Regions from separate parts of the Homo sapiens genome. Here regions 1 and 3 are each linked to region 2. The links are contacts of gene promoters, found by promoter capture Hi-C in human tissues and cell types (Jung and others, 2019). All regions are on one chromosome and are shown on one strand. Each heading gives the region's core, a stretch centred on a gene start or on the middle of the fragment in contact. The rest is flanking DNA. Distances are from core to core; before and after follow the strand shown.

Region 1 (3,621 bases), core at 365-2,864, 220 kb before region 2:
TGGTCTCAAGCTCTTGGGCTCAAGTGATCCTCCTGCCTCAGCCTCCTGACTATCTAGGATTACAGGTCTGGGCCACAGCACCTGGCTTATTTTAGTTCTAAATGTCATAGTCCAAGAACTATTACCATTAAAAAATGGCGGGCTGGGTGCAGTGGCTCACACCTGTAACCCTAGCACTTTGGTAGGCTGAGGTGGGTGGATCACCTGAGGTTGGAAGTTCGAGACCAGCCTGACCAACATGGAGAAACCCCGTCTCTACTGTGGCTCATGCCTGTAATCCCAGCACTTTGGGAGGCCGAGGCAGGTAGATCACGAGGTCAGGAGTTCAAGACCAGCCTGGCCAACATAGTGAAACCCCGTCTCTACTGAAAATACAAAAATTAGCTGGGCCTGGTGGCATGTGTCTGTAATCCCAGCTACTTGGGAGGCTGAGGCAGGAGAATCGCTTGAACTCCTGAGGCAGAGGTTTCAGTGAGCCGAGATCGCGCCACTGCACTCCAGCCTAGGCGACAGAGCAAGACTCCGTCTCAAAAAAAAGAAAAAAGAAAAAAGAAAAAAAACTTAGCCCGGCGTGGTGTCACATGCCTGTAATCCCAGCTACTGGAGAGGCTGAGTCAGGTGAATCTCTTGAACCTGGGAGGCAGAGGTTGCGGTGAGCCGAGATCGCGCCATTGCACTCCAGCCTGGGCAACAAGAGCGAAACTCCGTCTCAAAAAACAACAACAACAACAAGAAAAAGGGAGCGAGACCCTCTCTCTAAACCAAAAATGAACCGAAAAACCCCACATAGCCCTCCAAATGGATTAATTTCTCATGTCAGTTTGGAGTTGACACTTTGCAGAAGTTTGTATTCAAGGCCAAACTCTTTGGTAGATTTATTCTGGTTTTTCTCTTATATATTTGTTCTGGGCATTATTTTTGGTATTTTAATAAAATTACATACAAAATTTTATTTATAAAAATGGTTTATCTTAATGCATTCTTTTAATAATTACTTTGTTTCTGACAACTTCGTAACTATTACCATGAAGTCACAATATAGACTAATGAAAAAAGTAATAAAAGTTTTGTACTTAAGGAGGACAAGAGTTCCTTGGGGAAATACTGAGTGAATGCTTACAGGGAAGATAATTCTTTAGTTACAGATTAATTCCTTGAAAGTTAAATTCAACTTTAAAACATGGTCATTTATATTTTATTTATTTATTTATTTATTTATTTTTTGAGATGGAGTCTCGCTCTGTCACCCAGGCTGGATTGCAAGTGGCCTGATCTTGGCTCACTGCAACCTTCACCTTCTGTGTTCAAGCGATTATCCTACCTCAGCCTCCTGAGTAGCTGGGATTACAGGCACGTGCCACCATGCCTGGCTAATTTTTATATTTTTTCATTAGAGACAAGGTTTCACCACGTTGGCCAGGCTGGTCTCTAACTCCTAACCTCATGATCCACCCGCCTCGGCCTCCCAAAGTACTGGGATTACAGGTATGAGCCACCGCACCCGGCTAAAACATGGTCATTTTTAAAGAAATAAGCTTATTTATGAAATCAGATTAACTGAATAGAGCTTAGTTGATAATGAAGACTGGAAAACAATGAACATTTTCTTCATTTAAAAAAAACTTTCCCTTTTTGAAATAACATGATTTCTTAACTAAAAGGCATAAGGAATTTACTTTCAACTTGAGTATTATGGGTTTAGATAGTACTAGTAGTAATGTATAACATCTGACCTTTTTGTAATCATTTGATGAAGATGTAAATCCATGTTGTTATTTGTGGCTTTCTTTACAAATATAAAATTTGGGTCTAAAATATAAGGTTTGACTTGTATATAGAAGATGAATCTCATTAGAGGATTAGGTTTTTGTTTCTTCACAAACATTAGTGAACAATGGAATTTATGGATAAATTATGGATAAATTATGTTGGCCTTTATTATGTTGTAAAAGACTGCTAATAAAAGTGAAATAGAATGGACATAGTAAATGATTGTAAATTCATGAATGTTAAATATGATTGGCTTGGGCTGCTGAGTGTGGTGGCTCTCGCCCATAATCCCGGCACTTTGGGAGGCAAGGCAGGCAGATCACTTGAGGCCAGGAGTTTGAGACCAGTCTGGCCAACATGGTGAAACCCTGTCTCTACTAAAAATAGAAAAATTAGCCAGGCATGGTGGCGCGCACCTATCTGAGCTACTTGGGAGGCTGAGGCACGAAAGTTACTTGAACTTGGGAGGCAAAGGTTGCGGTGAGTGGACATCGCGCCACCGCACTCTAGCCTGGGTGATGGAGTGAGCTTCTGTCTGAAACAAACAGACAACCCCTCAAAAACCAAATAAATATGATTGGCTTAGCAGGTGCTGTGATCTGAGTGTTTGTTCCCTTATACCACCAAATTCATATGTTGAAACCTAATTCCCAATGTGATTGTATGAAGAAGTGGGGCCTTCAGGAATGATTACTTCATGAGGGCTCTGCCCTCATGAATGGGATTAGTGCCCTTCTAAAAGAGGCCTGAGAGAACTTGCTTTGCCCCACCATGTCAGGACACAGAAGGTACCATTTATGAGGAAAAGGCTCTCACCAGACACTGAATCTGCTGGTACTTTGATCTTGGACTTCTCAGGTTCCAGAGCTGTGAGCAGTAAATTTCCCTGGTTTATAAATTATCTAATCTGAGATATTTTGTTGTAGCAGCCTGAACAGATTAAGCATGTTTTGGGGGAATAATAGTGCACGAGAATCATCACTGATTACTTTAGGGAAGCTGAAAACTTGTAACCTTGTCTGTAAGGTGCCCCCCCAACACTTCCTTCTTTCTCCCTCCCTTCCTCCTTCCTTCTCCCAAAAACAAAGGAACCAACACAGAGTTGATAAATTACAAGAATTTTATGAAATTATACCTATTCAGGCACAGTGGCTCACGTGTATAATCTCAGCATTTTGGGAGGCTGAGGTGGGAGGATTGCTTGAGCCCAGGTGTTTGAGACTAGCCTGGGCAACGTAGGGAGACTCCATCTCCACCAAAAAACCCTGAAAAAAACAAAAAATTAGCTGGGCATGGTGGCATGGACCTATGGTCCCAGCTACTAAGGAGGGTGAGAGTGGGAAGTCAAGCCTACAGTGCACTACTGTACTCCAGCCTTGGCGACAGAGTGAGACCCTGTCTCAAATTTTTTTTTTTTTGAGACAGAGTCTTGCTCTGTCACCCAGGCTGGAGTGCAGTGGCGCTTTTTTTTTTTTTTTTTTGAGACAGAGTCTCGCTCTGTCACCCAGGCCGAAGTGCAGTGGCGCAATCTTGGTTCACTGCAACCTCCACCTCCCGGGTTCAAGCAATTCTCCTGCCTCAGCCTCCTGAGTAGTTGGGACTACAGGTGCACGCCGCTACGCCCAGCTAATTTTTTGTATTTTAGTAGAGACGGGGTTTCATCGTGTTGCCTAGGCTGGTTGCGAACTCCTGAGCTCAGGCAATCTGCCCGCCTCAGCCTCCCAAAGTGCTGGGATTACAGGTGTGAGCCACCGCGCCTGGCCTCAAAAAATTTTTTTTTAATTTAAAAAATTTAATATTTTTTAAAAAATAGAGATGGGGTCTCACTGTGTTGCCCAGGCTGATCTTGAA
Region 2 (3,714 bases), core at 218-2,717:
ACAAATAAAAGTTTCCACATTCTGCTTTTTCTCTTTCTTCTCCCAGGGGCCCGGTGGAGAGGCTGCAAGGTGCCCCTCGACCCTCTAAGACAGCTCAGCCAGTCCCTGCTGCAAAGGGCACACGCTGGCTCCTCTCTGTGCAGAGGACACCTTCACCCCTCACTCCGCCGCTTTGAGGATGGAGCACCTAACTTGGGAGAGGAGGTTTCAGCCTGCGTGGACCCCAAGAACCATCCGAGGGGTGGTTGGGCTGAGAACTGGCAGAGGGGGTCTTCCGGTGATGGGGTCTGGGGTTGCAAAGAAGGTGCCTCCAGGATCGGATCCCTGTGCCCAGCCGCTTGAAGCGCCTTTAGCTTCTTATCAAATATTAACATGCCTTTCCTGCCACCTCCCACCTAGAGGAATAATTAAGAGCTCGGCTTCACCATTAATCTTTAAACGAAAATCACCCTGTCCGGAAAGACCGGCTCCGCAGAGGCCTTGGGGCTCCGGGTCCCCCACCCCCCGCCCCCGCCAGGCTCCCAATTCAGCGCTGGAGGTTAGGGAGGCCAGGGGAGCTTGCGACCCTCAGGGGCAAGGAACCCGTGTGGGAAGCGCGGCTTCCAGGACCCTGCCAGACCGCCCTTGCTCTGGCCGCGGGGCAGTCACCCAGCGCTGAGTCCCAGCGGGACGGACGGAAACCCACGGGCAGACGGAGGAGGCTGGGTGAGAAAAGAAGGCGTGCGTTGAGGCGGGTCCGAGAAGCATCCTTTTTTTTTTTTTTTTTTTTTTTTTTTTTTTTTTTTAAACGGAGCACCAGGCTGGAGTGCAGTGGCGTGATCTCACTGCAACCTCCACCTCCTGGGTTCAAGCGATTCTCGGGCCTCAGCCTCCCGAGTAGCTGGGATTACAGGCGTGTGCCACCACGTCCGGCTAATGTTTGTATTTTTGGTAGAGATGGGATTTCACCATGTTGGCCATGCTGGTCTCGAACTCCTGGGCTCAGGTGATCCACCCGCCTCTGCCTCCCAACGTGCTGGCATTTCAGGCTGGAGCACCCGCGCCCGGCCTGAGACGCATCCTTATCAGGGACTCCCAACTCGTCTCGCCGGGCCACGCGCACACACCCTCACCGCGCACACCCGTGCACACGCTCCCCCAGCCGGTGCTGACACGCGTGTGCACACACAAGCTCGCGCGCTGCCCAGTCCTCCCGCACCCTCGCGGCCCCCGGCGCACACGCAACCCGGGACCCCAGCGCCACCGACGCTCACCGGTCGCCCGCGGGGGGATCCTCTGCAGGGGCGGGAGCTGGGGGCACGGAGGGGACCGCCGAGGGGCACCTGGGGCCGGAGCCCGGGAGCTCACCTGCACTGGCCGATGGCCGCGCCGCGGAGAGGGCCAGGAGCGCCAGCAGCATCCGCATCTTGCGGGACAGCAAAGAGTCCTCTGAGCCGGGGGTCGCGCACCGAGGAGGCCGCCGCGGGTGCAGCGATCCTGCCGGCCTGGGTTTTATAGCGGAGCCGCGACGGGAGGGAGCCCCGACAGCTGGACGCGGGAGGCGGCTCCTCCCCCTGGCGGGGCCTGCCCTCCCCTCTCCACCTTCCCCTGTCCCTCATCTGAAATCCTCCGCTCTCCCCGGTCCCCCGCCCTGCCTGGCCACCTCTTGCCCTGTGCGCAAGGCCCCCTCACCCACTCCGCGTCCTCTCCACTCAGCAGCGGCGCCCTGCCCCTCCCCCATCCTACTCCTGGTCCCTGGTTTGGGAACAGGGACACGACACCACAAAGTGCTTGACCCACACAAAGATGAGTGCCCCATGATGACTTTGATCATTCTGGCGCCACCCCTGCGCAGTGGTCTTGAATGGGACCTTGGAATGGCCTTGGGGTGGGGGTGGGGGTGGGGGTGGAGATGGCCTCGAAGAGATGAGAGGCTGAGGGGCGTGTGATGCCGTTTGTTGAATCAGTGGCCGCAGAAAGGCTCTCCTATCTCTCTTTGGCAGTGGCCATTGATTCTCTGGGTCTCATCTCTTCTATTTCCTCCCAGGCTGCTCCAAACTTAATTTCTAAGCAGACCAAAGACCTTTCTTCGAATACAGAGCAAAGCTGTCCCTAAACTACTGCCCTTGCTGGTGTTTATGTGATGACCAGGGAGGGTTGATGGGGCAGAATTAAGAAATGGATTGTAAGAGGATTCGGTGAGGGAGAAGCTGATGGGGTCAAAGGGGAGGAGCTAGGTTCTTTGAGCCCCCCAGGTGGAGAGATGAGATGGGAAGAGAAGAGACTGGGGTCTGAATGGACCCCTGGTTCTCCCATCTGGCAAGACCTCCAGAGGAGTCCAGGGGAAGTTCCCTTAAGGGCGGCTCCAACATTTGGGGAAATGGGGTCCCCCCCATGCCCCCAAGCTGCCTCTTGTCTCCTCTCTTAGCTGTGCCCTCCTGCTACTGCAGGTCCTCTGTGTCCCACATGGGGTGGGGGCTTCTGTGGGAGTTTGGGAAGCTCAGGCTGGGGTGCGGGAGAGGGACGGGGAACCAGGCAGTGGACCTGGACCTCCTCCATCAATCCATCAACAGGAAGCCCCCTTTTTCTGGTTTAGCCACTCCCCATCCGCTGCCAACCTCTCAGTCCCTACCGACCTTCGAACCTGGGCTAGGGACTTCTGAAGGGGGATTGCCTCCCCCAGAAGGATTCAGGCAAAGATGCTTCCTCCTTGCTTAGGGTTGAGGCTGACTCCCCGCTCCTGGCCCAGGATCACACAGCCTCACAGAGCAGCTTTGATCCTACAGAGAGGCAGGAGGGAGGTGAGGGGGTGTCCATGCCAGGCTTAGGGCTCTATTGTCAACACCACTGTATAATGTAATCACCAGCCTGCGACCATGACAGCCACAGGAGGGATTCCACACCCAGAGCCTATTCTGGGGAGTGCATTTGTGTTCACAGGGCTATAAAAATGTCCCTTTCAGGACTGAGGAAGCCTGTTCCTGGGAATAAAAACCACCCCCAGGGAGTCCCTGTGACCTCTGGCCAGCCCCCTGATGAGCAGGGGAGAGGCTTGGGAAACTTTGGTGGGGTTAAGGGACTGTTGATCAATGATCCACTTTAAAGTTCATTGCATTCAGGCCCCCCAGGAGAGAGGGGGGCCCTGGGTGCATTTTGGGACCATAAAGATGGGTGAGGAGAACGAGTCCCTGGTAGGGCATCCCCTCTGAGGAATGCGGGAGGGGTAAAGCTATACACTCTCTTATGGGTGCATCTTAATTATGGGCACCACAGAGCCTGCACATTGGCGATGGGGTGGTGGACTGGTTCCTGCTCCATCTGCCATCTCTAACTTCAAGGTTACACAGGGTGAGTGGCCCTCTCTTCCTGTTCCTGGTCTTAACATTCTCAGCCTTATCTCCAGCCCTGACCCCAGTCCTGGCCTGCCATAAACCAGTCACCTGTCACTATTTAGACTACCTGGGGCCCTGCTTACCTGTAGGGGACAAGGCCTGATTTAGGGTCGTTAGAGCTGGAATGAGTGCTGACATGTCCCAGCGACTTACAGGGCCCATAAAGCTGCCAGCCCAGGCCACCTGAGTGGGAGAGCCCAGCCCAGCAGCCCCAGCCTCCTTCCTCTTACTCTGCAGAGGCCCCCAGTGTTCTGAGTTCAAGTCTTTGCTCTTCTTCTGACTCACGGATGACCTTGGGCAACTTTCCTGCACCCGGCTGATTGCAACTTCCTCATCTATAAAC
Region 3 (3,303 bases), core at 13-2,512, 180 kb before region 2:
CTATGTTGGCCAGGCTGGTCTCAAACTCCTGACCTCAGGTGATCCACCCGCCTCAGCCTCCCAAAGTGCTGGGATTACAGGCTTGAGCCACCGCGTCCGGCCCAGAGTAAACTTTTGAGGCGATAGAAATGTTTGGTTTTTGTTTTCTTCATTGTGTTTAGTGATTGGTATATATGCATGACAAAACCGATTGACTGTACACTTTTTTCTTTCTTGAGACAGCATCTCGCTCTGTCACCCAGGCTGGAGTGGCGTGATCTCTGCTCACCTCAACCTCCACCTCCCAGGTTCAAGCGAGTCTCGTGCCTCAGCCTCCCGAGTATCTGGGACTACAGGCATGCACCACCATGCCCAGCTAATTTTTTGTATTTTATTTTATTTTTGTTTTGTAGAGATGGGGTTTCGCTATGTTGCCAAAACTGATCTTGAACTCCTGAGCTCAAGCAATCCTCCCACCTTGGCCTCCCAAAGTGCTAGGTTTACAGGTGTGAGCCACTGTGCCTGACCTCAATTGTATACTTTAAATGTGTGCAGATTTTTTAATATTAAAGTTTATTTTATTTTTTTTTGAGATGGGGTCTTACTCTGGTGGCCAGGCTGGAGTACAGTGGCATGATCACAGCTCACTGCAGCGTTGACCTCCCCAAGCTCAAGTGATCCTCCAGCCTCAGCCTCCTGAGAAGCTGGGACTACAAGTGCATGCCACTATGCCTGGCTAACTTGTATTTTTTTGTTTTGCTGTGTTCCCCAGGCTGGTCTTGAACTCCTGGACTCAAGCAATCCTCCCACCTTGGCCTCCCAAAGTGCTAGGTTTACAGGTGTGAGCCACTGTGCCTGACCTCAATTGTATACTTTAAATGTGTGCAGATTTTTTAATATTAAAGTTTATTTTATTTTTTTTTGAGATGGGGTCTTACTCTGGTGGCCAGGCTGGAGTACAGTGGCATGATCACAGCTCACTGCAGCATTGACCTCCCCAGGCTCAAGTGATCCTCCAGCCTCAGCCTCCTGAGAAGCTGGGACTACAAGTGCATGCCACTATGCCTGGCTAACTTGTATTTTTTTGTAGAGATAGGGTTTTGCCATGTTCCCCAGGCTGGTCTTGAACTCCTGGACTCAAGCAGTCCGCCTGCCTTGGCCTCCCAAAGTGCTGGGATTACAGGTGTGAGTCACCACACCCAGTCTAAGTATATGCAGTTTTATTGTACTTCAGTTGTTTCACAAAAGTTGGTAAAATGTTAAATTAAATATACTTTTTGGGTTTTTCAGGAAGAATACTTAACACTATTTAGGAAAGTGAGCCTGGAATATAAAAGTTGACTATTGGACAGAACTATCATTTCCTTTTCTATCTTTGTTAGGGCATTTGTATTTTGGTTGAACTTTATTATTTACTTAATGATCTTTTCCTAGTCACTTAAGTTCTGAGACAAAAGAACTTCCAAAACTTTGATCAGAATTGTAGGAATTTAGGTATATGACTAGCTTGAGTGAAATTGGAAAAGTTACAAGTACAGTTAACTTGTGATGTTCTACCATTGACTTGGAAACTTGCCTGGAATGGAGGGGAGAAGGGTGAGGGCTGGGTTAGGCTGGGAAAGTTGGGATAGTGAAAAGAAGAAATGCCCAGTGATAAATTTGGAACTCTGTCTTTTCCTTATGATATGAAGTTATATTTGGGTTTAACTAAGCTTTTAGAAAATCTCCAGCCTGGCCAACACAGCGAGACCCCATCTCTACAAAAAATACAAATATTAGCCAGGTGTGATGATATGTGTCTGTAGTCCCAGCTACTCGGGAGGCTGAGGCTGGAGGATTGATTAAGCCTGGGAGGTTGAGGCTACAGTGAACCATGATTGCACCACTGCACTCCGACCTGGGTGACAGAGTGAGAACCTGTCTTTAAAAAAAAGAGAGAGAGAGAGAAAGAGAGAAAGGAGGGAGGGGGGGAGAGAGAGAGAGAAAGAGAGAAAGAAAAAGGAAAGGAAAAGAAAAGAAAGAAGGAAGGAAGGAAGAAAAGAAAAGAAAGAAATCTAAGTTAAAGCAAGGAGACTCCAGAATGAGATTACTGAGAATAGAAGATCCAGGATAATTCACTTCCATGAAAAATATGGATAATAAAGTAGAATAAGGACAGACAGGAGGAGCCACTTGTGAGGACAAGGAGGCCAATTTTAAGATCATGGATGAAAAGCGTAGAACAGCAAAGAAAAAAGCTACTCAGGAAGTCTCAATAGGCAAAATTCAGAGCTACTAATTTTAAAGAGAGCAATTTTGACTTGAAACCTAGTAATTGAACCAGAAGCTTTAATAGGCATTTTTGGGCACCAGCGGACCTGAGGAGGATTCAGTTTCTTCCTTGGGTTAGGAATAGATCAGCTATTGAGTAGGGACAAATATTGCTTTAAAGGAAGCTAGTGAGTGGAAAGGGAGTTACAACCCAGAACTTCAAAGAAATTATTTAATTATTTTAAACCAGTGTGAAGCTAATTGCAAGGGCATACGAATAACTTACCTCATTGATCTCTAGTAATACTGCTTATGCTCTGAGTATCTCTTGTAGTTGTGTATTTAAATAGACCTAAATAGACAAGGTATGTTCAGAGGCAAGAAAAGGAGACTGAGTCGCAGGAGTTGGTATTCTATGTGTTGGCAGCATGAAGTTGCCTAAGGCAGAGTGGTAATCTGGTTTGTGGAATCAGTCCTAGAATTAGTTATTGGTCTGACAGTCTGTCAGATATAAGTAGGTAATATTCTGAGGTATTCTAGATATTTTGCATAGAAAAGGCTCCTTTGCTTTTAAGAGTTGAGGAAGGGAGAAAAGTAATAAGGAGTGTTCTATTCTATAAATTTAAGAAGAGGCTGGGCATGGTGGCTTATGCCTGTATCCTAGCACTTTGGGAGGCTGAAGTGGGAGGAATGCTTGAGGCCAGGAGTTCAAGGCCAGCCTGGGCAACATAGTGAGACCTCATCTCAAAAAAAAAAAATAAATAAAAACAAATTATAATGATAATAAATTTAAGCAGAGTATTAGTAACTTTCTGATTCTCATGTTCTATAAACATTTTATGGTCTGGGCTCATACCTAGCATATAATAGTCAACAATTCTGTGGGATATATTATCTGACACAGTCCTATCCTAAGACCCCTCTGGAACTCTTAGGACAATTCTTACATGAAAAAAAAAACACACACACACATTGTCAGGCAAAAACAATAAAATATACCAAGAAGATGGAGCAACTAACATCTTTTTGTTTTTTTCTGGAAGTATTATTTAACACTTTCTTTTTACGAATAAA

What was found. The method cuts DNA at HindIII sites, captures the fragments that hold promoters and counts their contacts. A contact is called where the count stands out against the background at its distance.
Region 1: a contact is called between a fragment that was not itself captured here and the fragment with the promoter of CA4 in region 2, in 2 of the 25 tissues and cell types used here (dorsolateral prefrontal cortex and stomach).
Region 3: a fragment that was not itself captured here is called in contact with the fragment with the promoter of CA4 in region 2 in 2 of the 25 tissues and cell types used here (bladder and mesenchymal stem cells).

The regions. Positions count from the first base shown.
Region 1 is chr17:60,363,085-60,366,705 of GRCh38, reverse strand. The region is part of intron 1 of USP32 (ubiquitin specific peptidase 32); the gene reads left to right. Among named protein-coding and RNA genes, the nearest start is that of USP32, 27 kb to the left of the region's middle. The HindIII fragment of the contact is 8,897 bases long and covers 1-3,621 here.
Region 2 is chr17:60,147,726-60,151,439 of GRCh38, reverse strand. It overlaps CA4 (carbonic anhydrase 4), which reads right to left and starts at 1,467. Exons shown (of 8, transcript NM_000717.5): 1 at 1,348-1,467. The coding sequence starts at 1,405. The HindIII fragment of the contact is 35,208 bases long and covers 1-3,714 here.
Region 3 is chr17:60,329,165-60,332,467 of GRCh38, reverse strand. The region is part of intron 2 of USP32 (ubiquitin specific peptidase 32); the gene reads left to right. Among named protein-coding and RNA genes, the nearest start is that of USP32, 61 kb to the left of the region's middle. The HindIII fragment of the contact is 3,504 bases long and covers 1-3,014 here.